2 separate regions of the Homo sapiens genome follow, and region 1 is linked to region 2. Evidence: promoter capture Hi-C in human tissues and cell types (Jung and others, 2019). All regions are on one chromosome and are shown on one strand. The core of a region is centred on a gene start or on the middle of the fragment in contact, and the rest is flanking DNA. Distances in the headings are between cores, read along the strand shown.

The links. The method cuts DNA at HindIII sites, captures the fragments that hold promoters and counts their contacts. A contact is called where the count stands out against the background at its distance.
Region 1: a contact is called between the fragment with the promoter of MTF2 here and the fragment with the promoter of GLMN in region 2, in 1 of the 25 tissues and cell types used here (adrenal gland).

The regions. Positions count from the first base shown.
Region 1 is chr1:93,077,893-93,081,372 of GRCh38, reverse strand. It overlaps MTF2 (metal response element binding transcription factor 2), which reads right to left and starts at 2,090. Exons shown (of 15, transcript NM_007358.4): 1 at 1,842-2,090. The coding sequence starts at 1,846. RefSeq lists enhancers at 2,047-2,341, 2,278-2,527. The HindIII fragment of the contact is 11,533 bases long and covers 1-3,480 here.
Region 2 is chr1:92,296,674-92,300,593 of GRCh38, reverse strand. It overlaps GLMN (glomulin, FKBP associated protein), which reads left to right and starts at 1,607. Exons shown (of 19, transcript NM_053274.3): 1 at 1,607-1,669; 2 at 2,565-2,633; 3 at 3,065-3,190. The coding sequence starts at 2,595. RPAP2 (RNA polymerase II associated protein 2) reads right to left here and starts at 1,535. Exons shown (of 13, transcript NM_024813.3): 1 at 1,448-1,535; 2 at 355-400. The coding sequence starts at 1,520. RefSeq lists enhancers at 1,122-1,351, 1,572-2,041, 1,613-2,509 and a silencer at 1,773-2,110. The HindIII fragment of the contact is 5,439 bases long and covers 234-3,920 here.

The DNA.
Region 1 (3,480 bases), core at 841-3,340, 780 kb before region 2:
TTATGCTGAAAAATGATTAAAGCAAATTATCCTTCAAAGATCCCACAAAAAGGAATATTTATAATCCATGAAATCAAAGAGTTAATGACCCACAGTAAAATACACAGAATGTCTTTCCTAACAGAGCTTTGAGGCAACGGGGATGATTTAAAGAACTATTAAATATAATTGTGTCATCTAGAAAAAAGGCTTAACAAGATGATTTCTGTACAACTAGTTCTAAAACTGTGTATGCATTTCATCCTGATAGTTACACATTTCCGTTAATACCCACTAACATTATAAATGTAGTATCAGGAAGCAGGTGTGTTCTTAATTCAAATATTTAGAACATTTTTAGCACTTTAAAAAACTGCAGGTGAACTAATTTTAAAATGTGAATTCAAATACATTTTTATATTTAGGAATCTGAAAAAACAAGTCATTTTGTATTCCCTCTCAAGTTATAACTAAACTATAGGGCACTTAAAGCCATCAGTCAAAACAACTCCCTTTAAAGCATTTTCAAATCTTAAAAAGGTTATTGTGAATTTAATTACATTTTATCCACATTAACTACTTCTACATACAACTATCTTTGAAATTTACTGACAAAAAAAAAAAAAAAAGGAATTCCCAAGAGAGAATGAAACCATGGAAATTGAAACCAGCTTGTAGGCTAGGTATACAGGAGGGTCACATGGAATCCATCTGAAGGAGAAAGTAACTACTATTACTACCGGAGGTTCTGAAGTCAAATTAAATCAGGTACTATTTACATATTTCTAGCTCTGTACTGACCTCACATGGTGCCTTCCTATGTATTACACACAGGCCTAGCTAGGTTTTCACATTTAAGTTAGTGTTACATGGTTTCTATCTTTAACCAAAGTTAAATGTTTTAAAGAATAGAGTAACATTCCATAAGCCTTTTCCCATTGTTCACAAACCCTTGCTGTTAGTCAGATTACCCCGATAAATCCATCTGTTCCCTCTAATTGCTTCCAAAGAAAAATTCTAGCAACCAAGGACACCAGATTGTAAAACACAGAGTTAGAGTTCTGGCACTACCGAAATATGTTAAGAAATCTTGGCAAATTGGTTAAAATTCCTTGAGCCGTAATTACCTCAGTTGTAAAAATGAATACAATACAAATCTACATCCTAGACGTAGATTATATGAGTTAGGTTTAATTAAACACAAGAAAAGCCTCATATTTTTGGTGAGCTCCAAATATAAGCTACCTAGCTTTCCCCCATCTCACTTTCCCTCCCACCGCTTCCCTTTAAGCTTTCAGGTTGTGCTTCCAACCTCCACTTCAGTGTGTTCCCCTTATCCTTACCAGCACTTACACTCGACCCCCTTTACTCCAATTCCATACAATTCCACCCTCCGATTCCAAGCTGCTACTTCCCTTTGCGCACTGCTAAGGTCCCAGGCAGCCCTCCACTCTGCTCCCCACATTTCCCTCAGCCCCCATTTCCCAACGGCTCCTCCTCTCGGCTCCCCACCCCCTCGTCACCAGGTTCATCCTGCCCCTCCAACCGTCTCCCGCCCCCAGGTTCCTTCCTGCCCTCCAAACACAGCTTCCCCGTCTCAACGTTTCATCTTGTTCCTCCAACAGACTCCCCCAACGACCTCCTCGCTCCTTTAGTCCCTATTTTCTCCCAACACTCAACTGACTACTCCTCTTCATCCATTCTTTTCAATATACACATAAATGCAAAGGCACCCACATACAGGAGCCCCCACCCCCACCTTGGTCCTCCATCTTTCCCTTTTATACTTGCTTCCTTTCTTCCTCCTTCCCCCAACCCCCATCTCCTCCGGAAGAGTCGGTTCCCAGGCCAAGGTCTCTCACCTCATTCGGTCACTTCAGTGGTGCCAACCGCTTCATACAGGAAAAAACAACCAATCCGTCCCCGTGGGCGCTTCCCCTGCGAGTCCGAGCACTTACTGGGCACCCGCCCCACCGGGTACCCGGCACATATGCACGCACAAACCGAGGTCCTTGGAGACAAGGGTTGGGGGTAGAATGAGCGTTCTTACACCGGCCTCAAACACAGCCCACTTCAATACAGCCCCTCGCCATTTTGGTTTCCCGCGGACTGCCGGTGCATTCTGGGAGCGCGGAGCGACTCCGGTGCCGAATGGCAGCTCTCCAAAGCCGCGGGGGGGCAGGGACTGCGCGGCGAGCGCGGAGGAACACCGCGCCCTGCGTCCCCGACTGGGGCTGAACAAAGAAGGACTCTTTAACGTTGCAGTGAGGCTCAGTCCTTCCGCCGCCGGGGCTAACACAATAGTGAAAGCTGCGCTCCTGATCGTCGGCAGGCTGGCACTGTTATACAGGAAAAGGGTCGTGTGCGACCTTCGGTGTGCGTGGTCGTAACGGTGCTCTGTGCATCTTGCTGGGCCGATTTCTTTTCCCTGGAGAAAACCTTAACTGAAGCACGTTTCCTCTACTTTCATCCTAAGGCCTGCTGTTAGAATTTCCTTCAGAGGGGAGAAGACCCAGGATGTCGAGATTAAATTTTATTCAGCGATTCACTGTCCAGTCCCAAACTCCTTATCAGGAGCTGCTTTTATGAAAGACTTTCAGACGATTTTTTTCCTAACGATGAAAGGTTGTTTTCTGTTTACCCGCTTTGCAGTCCTTCCTAGTTGTAATGAAATCTGAGAATAGTCCCCTGCAAAATGGTTTAAGAAAACAGAATTGTTTATTAGTGCAGACCCTTAGCCTGCCCAGATTCTGCTGCCTACAGGGGTCCCAACTGACAAGCTGTGAGATTGTATGCTTGTCTCTTTAACTTACACCTAGATACAACCCAGCTCCTCTTAGTAGCCACGTGTGGAATCTTTATTTATAATTTCGTCAAAATATTTTTAAAGCCATTTTATATTTTTGTCCCATATTATGCCACAGGGATAGTGAACACCATATTTTTTCTGTCTCTGAAAAAGTACCTTTTGTGGTCTAAGCTCATTTGGCTCATACTTCAAAAGGGGTTCCCTCAGCCTGTGATCTCAGAATTTGGCAAATAAGCATATTCGTTTTATCCAATACCATTCAATACTTTAAATATTGTGGTCATACCCTTCCACTCCTCTGCTTCTCCTGAATAATAGTCCTAATCTTTTAAGTCTGTCTTCTTACTGTACCCTCACTGTATCTACTTACCTACTACCTTTCAGGTTTCACTTTATTTCAATTCTCATCATCGTCTCTCATAAATTCGTCTTAAGTGACCTTCATACGTTGGCTGAGGAAAATTTTGACTTAAAAAAAGCAGATGCAGCCGGGCGCGGTGGCTCACACCTGTAATTCCAGCACTTTGGGAGGCCGAGACAGGCAGATCACCTGAGGTCGGGAATTCGAGACCAACCTGATCAACTTGGAGAAACCCCGTCTCTACTAAAAATACAAAAATTAGCCAGGTGTGGTGGCACATGCCTGTAATCCCAGCTACTCGGGAGGCTGAGACAGGAGAATCGCTTGAACC
Region 2 (3,920 bases), core at 358-2,857:
ATGTAACAAAGAACAGAAAAGGTTTCTTGGAGTGACAGCGAAACTTGGAGAGTGAGTCTCTGGCATATAAAGCAATAAAAGGAGAGTGTACCTGAAGCGGTGAAAAACAAACACCTTCTACAGACACTCATTCCTTCACTAGCAGTCTGAGTGCTTAGTTTGGTTTTCTTAAAGCCTGGAGTAGAGGAATGTAACAGTCTATGTGAGAATTTATAGGCCTTCCCAGATCTTTCCCTTCCCTCTCATGATAATTTTCTCTAAAAAAAAAAAGGTAACCATTATTGTTTTAAAATTGGTACAAGTAATACAAGATAAGTAGATATGCCAATGTAGTTGTCCATGTAGCTGTCATACCTTTTAGAAGCATCTTCTTGTTTCAAAGTACTTGTCTGTTTAGTACCTACAATAAAAATACAGTCATGTGCTACATAATGACATTTCCGTAAACGACGGACAGCATACAGACAGCGGTCTCATAAGATTAAAATACTGTATTTTTACTGTACCTTTTCTATGTTTAGATATACAGTTGCCTACAGTACTTAGTACAGTAACATGCTGTGCAGGTTTGTAGCCTGGGAGCAATAGGCTGTACCATATAGCCTAGTGTGTAAGTAGGCTGTACCATCTAGGTTTGTGTAAGTGCACTCGATGATGGTCACACAAGGATGAAATCGACTAACAACTTATTTCTCAAAATGCATCCCCGCAGTTAAGCTACACATGGTGGCAGTAGGTCAGGTCTACACAAACACATTAGGTACAAGATAGATTCCTACACAAATAACAAACTGTAGACCACCTTTTCTTCTTTTCCACATATTTTATGTCCAATCGTGTGTAAATCAAAATGAAATAGGAAGGGAGAGCAATTTGTTTTTGCAAATTGATTACTGTCTAATTTTTCTTGGTTAAAATGTATCTCTTTGGGGATTGAATTTTCTTCTGTATCATAGTTGCTTAATTAACCACTCCTGAAAATCTGAGATCTGGGTACTTTTAGGGGAAACCTCTCTCCGTCTGCCAAACGTCCTCTCTGGGGGAAGAGGGGAGTCCGGCACCTTAAAGAACTGGGCACCCAAGCAATCTGGAAAGGAGGACCGGTCCTAGGTTCAAGGCCAGCTGCCAACGCTGCCCTAGTCACTTGCCCCGAAACCCGGGGACCCCAGGCCTGGGTTCCCGGGGCCTCCACTGTCCTTTGTCTCAGAGGCTGGGGCCACAGTCCGCGTGAGGGAAATCTTGGAACACTGGCGTAAAGGGGTGAGGGGCGGCCAGGAAATCTTTCCCAGGAGGTGCGGACGGCGGTGGGAAGCTTTCGGCCTACTCTACCTGGGAGAACCCCTCCCCTGAAGCAGCCTTTCAGGAGCGCCCGCGCGCTGCGGTCTATAACTCGAGATCGGGGCCCAGCTTTCAGGGTCCAAAAGTGGGAAGAGATCCTTGCTCCTACCTGCGGCTTTTCGAGAGCAGCGGGGAGCCCCGGCCTTGCGGCCGGCAGAAGACGGCCCAGCGAAGTCCGCCATGGGGGAGAGTAGTCTGCCGGACGGGGACACGCTCCGGCGTCTCGCCCCGAGGCCCCGCCTCCCTACGCGTAGCGCGGGGCGGGGCCAGAAGAGCGGGCTAAGACGCCGGAGGAGGTGGCGGCGGCTGGGAGAGGCGAGGGTTCTGGCCGGTAAGTGGAGTTGTGGAGAGGTTCAGGGTGGCCAGGGCTCGCGGTTGGCCGTGAGCCGCGGCGGACTTGGTGCTGCGGGCCGACTAGGCCACGCGAGGTGGTGGAGCCTGCCCACCTAGGCGAGCAGGAATCGGAAGACATGGCTTCCTCTGATGCAGCCCGCACGCGCGCTGGGGTGTTCACTCGCCTTCCAGCGCGCTGCCCTGAGGACCGGGCTGACTCGCGCCCCTACTGAGGGCTTGGGGCCGAGCCTTGCCGCCAGGAGAAGCGATGGTCTCCTCCTGAAGGCCGCCGTTGTCTTGTCTCCGTGTGATACAGTGATTTCACTAGCTGGATTGATCACTTTGGGGACTGCAACTCCTAGAGAGAAATGGAATGGAGGGCATCTGAATCTTCACCCCCTATAGATAAGCTTGTGTTGCACCCCAATTTTTGTGAGGTGAGACATTAAAAATGAAAAATCCCCTGATGATTAGAATTTTGATTTCAGGTCCACCTTTTGGAAATTTTTTTTCAGAAAAGAAGTGCTTTGCTTTTTAAAAGCCCTTTAGTTCGTATATGCCTCGCCTCTTGGGAGTGCTCGAGAGGTTTTTTTTGTTTTTTTTTCCTTCAAAGTAGCTTTCAAAACTATGCTCCTAGAAAACTTAAAACATGCAATAAGGGCTTCTAAAAAAACACTTTATTTTCTTAGGCAAACATACTAAGATTCAGTAATAACATTTCAACTTTAAAACTTTACATTTTCTCCTAGCATGCTATTGGACCAAAAAACACAACAACAAAAACTTTCCATTTTCTTTATTGTATTTACTAATAATTTATCACACTGAAACATAACTTTTGAATACTTAAGTGTAATATCACGGATAGTTAACAGTGTGTTTTGTATTTGTAGATTTTAGCATCGAAACTAGGAGAAATAAGAATGGCTGTAGAGGAACTTCAGTCTATAATAAAGAGATGTGTAAGTATTAATTTTTGTAAAATTAAATACCTTTCAAAATATGGGAAGGGCACAGATTGTTTTTAATTATATTTGTGGTCACTCAAATTGTTTATCTTCTTTAATCCTTGCTTTTTTTGACCTGTAAAGAGCATGAGTGGGGGAGGCAGATTGGATTATTTCTCCAGGTGACATACTTATCTAAATAACCTTTTACATTTTAATCCTGATCCTTTTCATAGATTTCACTGGTACAGTAGATTTCAAGGTCACTTATTAAAGTATTTATTAGGGTAATCCTAATTTTGATACGTGTGTTATTTACGTTACATTTATCTAGAATTTAAACAGATTTCCTTTTTTCATAGATAAATCAAGAAGTTATTGTATTTAATTTTTATTTGCATATACTTTTTTTTGTTTGTTTTTTGGGTTTTTTTTTTTTTTGCCAGCAAATCCTAGAAGAGCAAGACTTTAAAGAAGAGGATTTTGGCCTATTTCAGTTAGCTGGGCAAAGATGCATAGAAGAAGGGCACACAGACCAGCTATTAGAAATTATTCAAAATGAAAAGAATAAGGTGCGTACAATCTTGGTGTTTACTTTTCAGTCTTGGGAAGAGAATAATCACATGATGCTATTCATCCAGTCATTTATCCATCAAACATTTAAGAATCTACTTAAATTTTCACAGTAGGGAACTGAAAACAAAAAAAGAATTAGAAATATTTAGGCCAGGCGCAGTGGCTCACGTTCGTAATCACAGCGTTATGGGAGGCCAAGGCAGGCAGATCACTTGAGCCCAGGAGTTTGAGACCAGCCTGGGCAACAGAGTAAGACCCTGTCTCAGAAAAAAAAAAAAAAAAAAGAAAAGAAACAGTCATATACTTGAAGGTTTTTACCATCTGGTCAAACATAAACATGTAAACAACTAACAATAATGAGGCAAAATAAATAATTGCTATAGTTGAAGTAAAGAGTTTTTAGAAGAAACAGAATTACTTCTGGTTTAGGGAGTCCAAAAATGGTGTTTGAGTCATTAATTTACAATGAGAAATATACATATCAAGCAGGCTAAATATTCATTTTGGGTGATCAGCCCATTCTCCTCCAGCCAAATGTGTATGGAAAACCAAATTTTAATTAAAACAGTATTTTATGTGCATAGAATCAGAACAGGAGGAAAACGATATGTCATTATACTAGCCAGTATCATCCAGTTACAATGGTTTGAGAAATCATCCTCCACAATGGAAAAGGATCTTATTTGTGGATCAGGAATAACTTTTTCCTGGGACACTGTGTTGGCA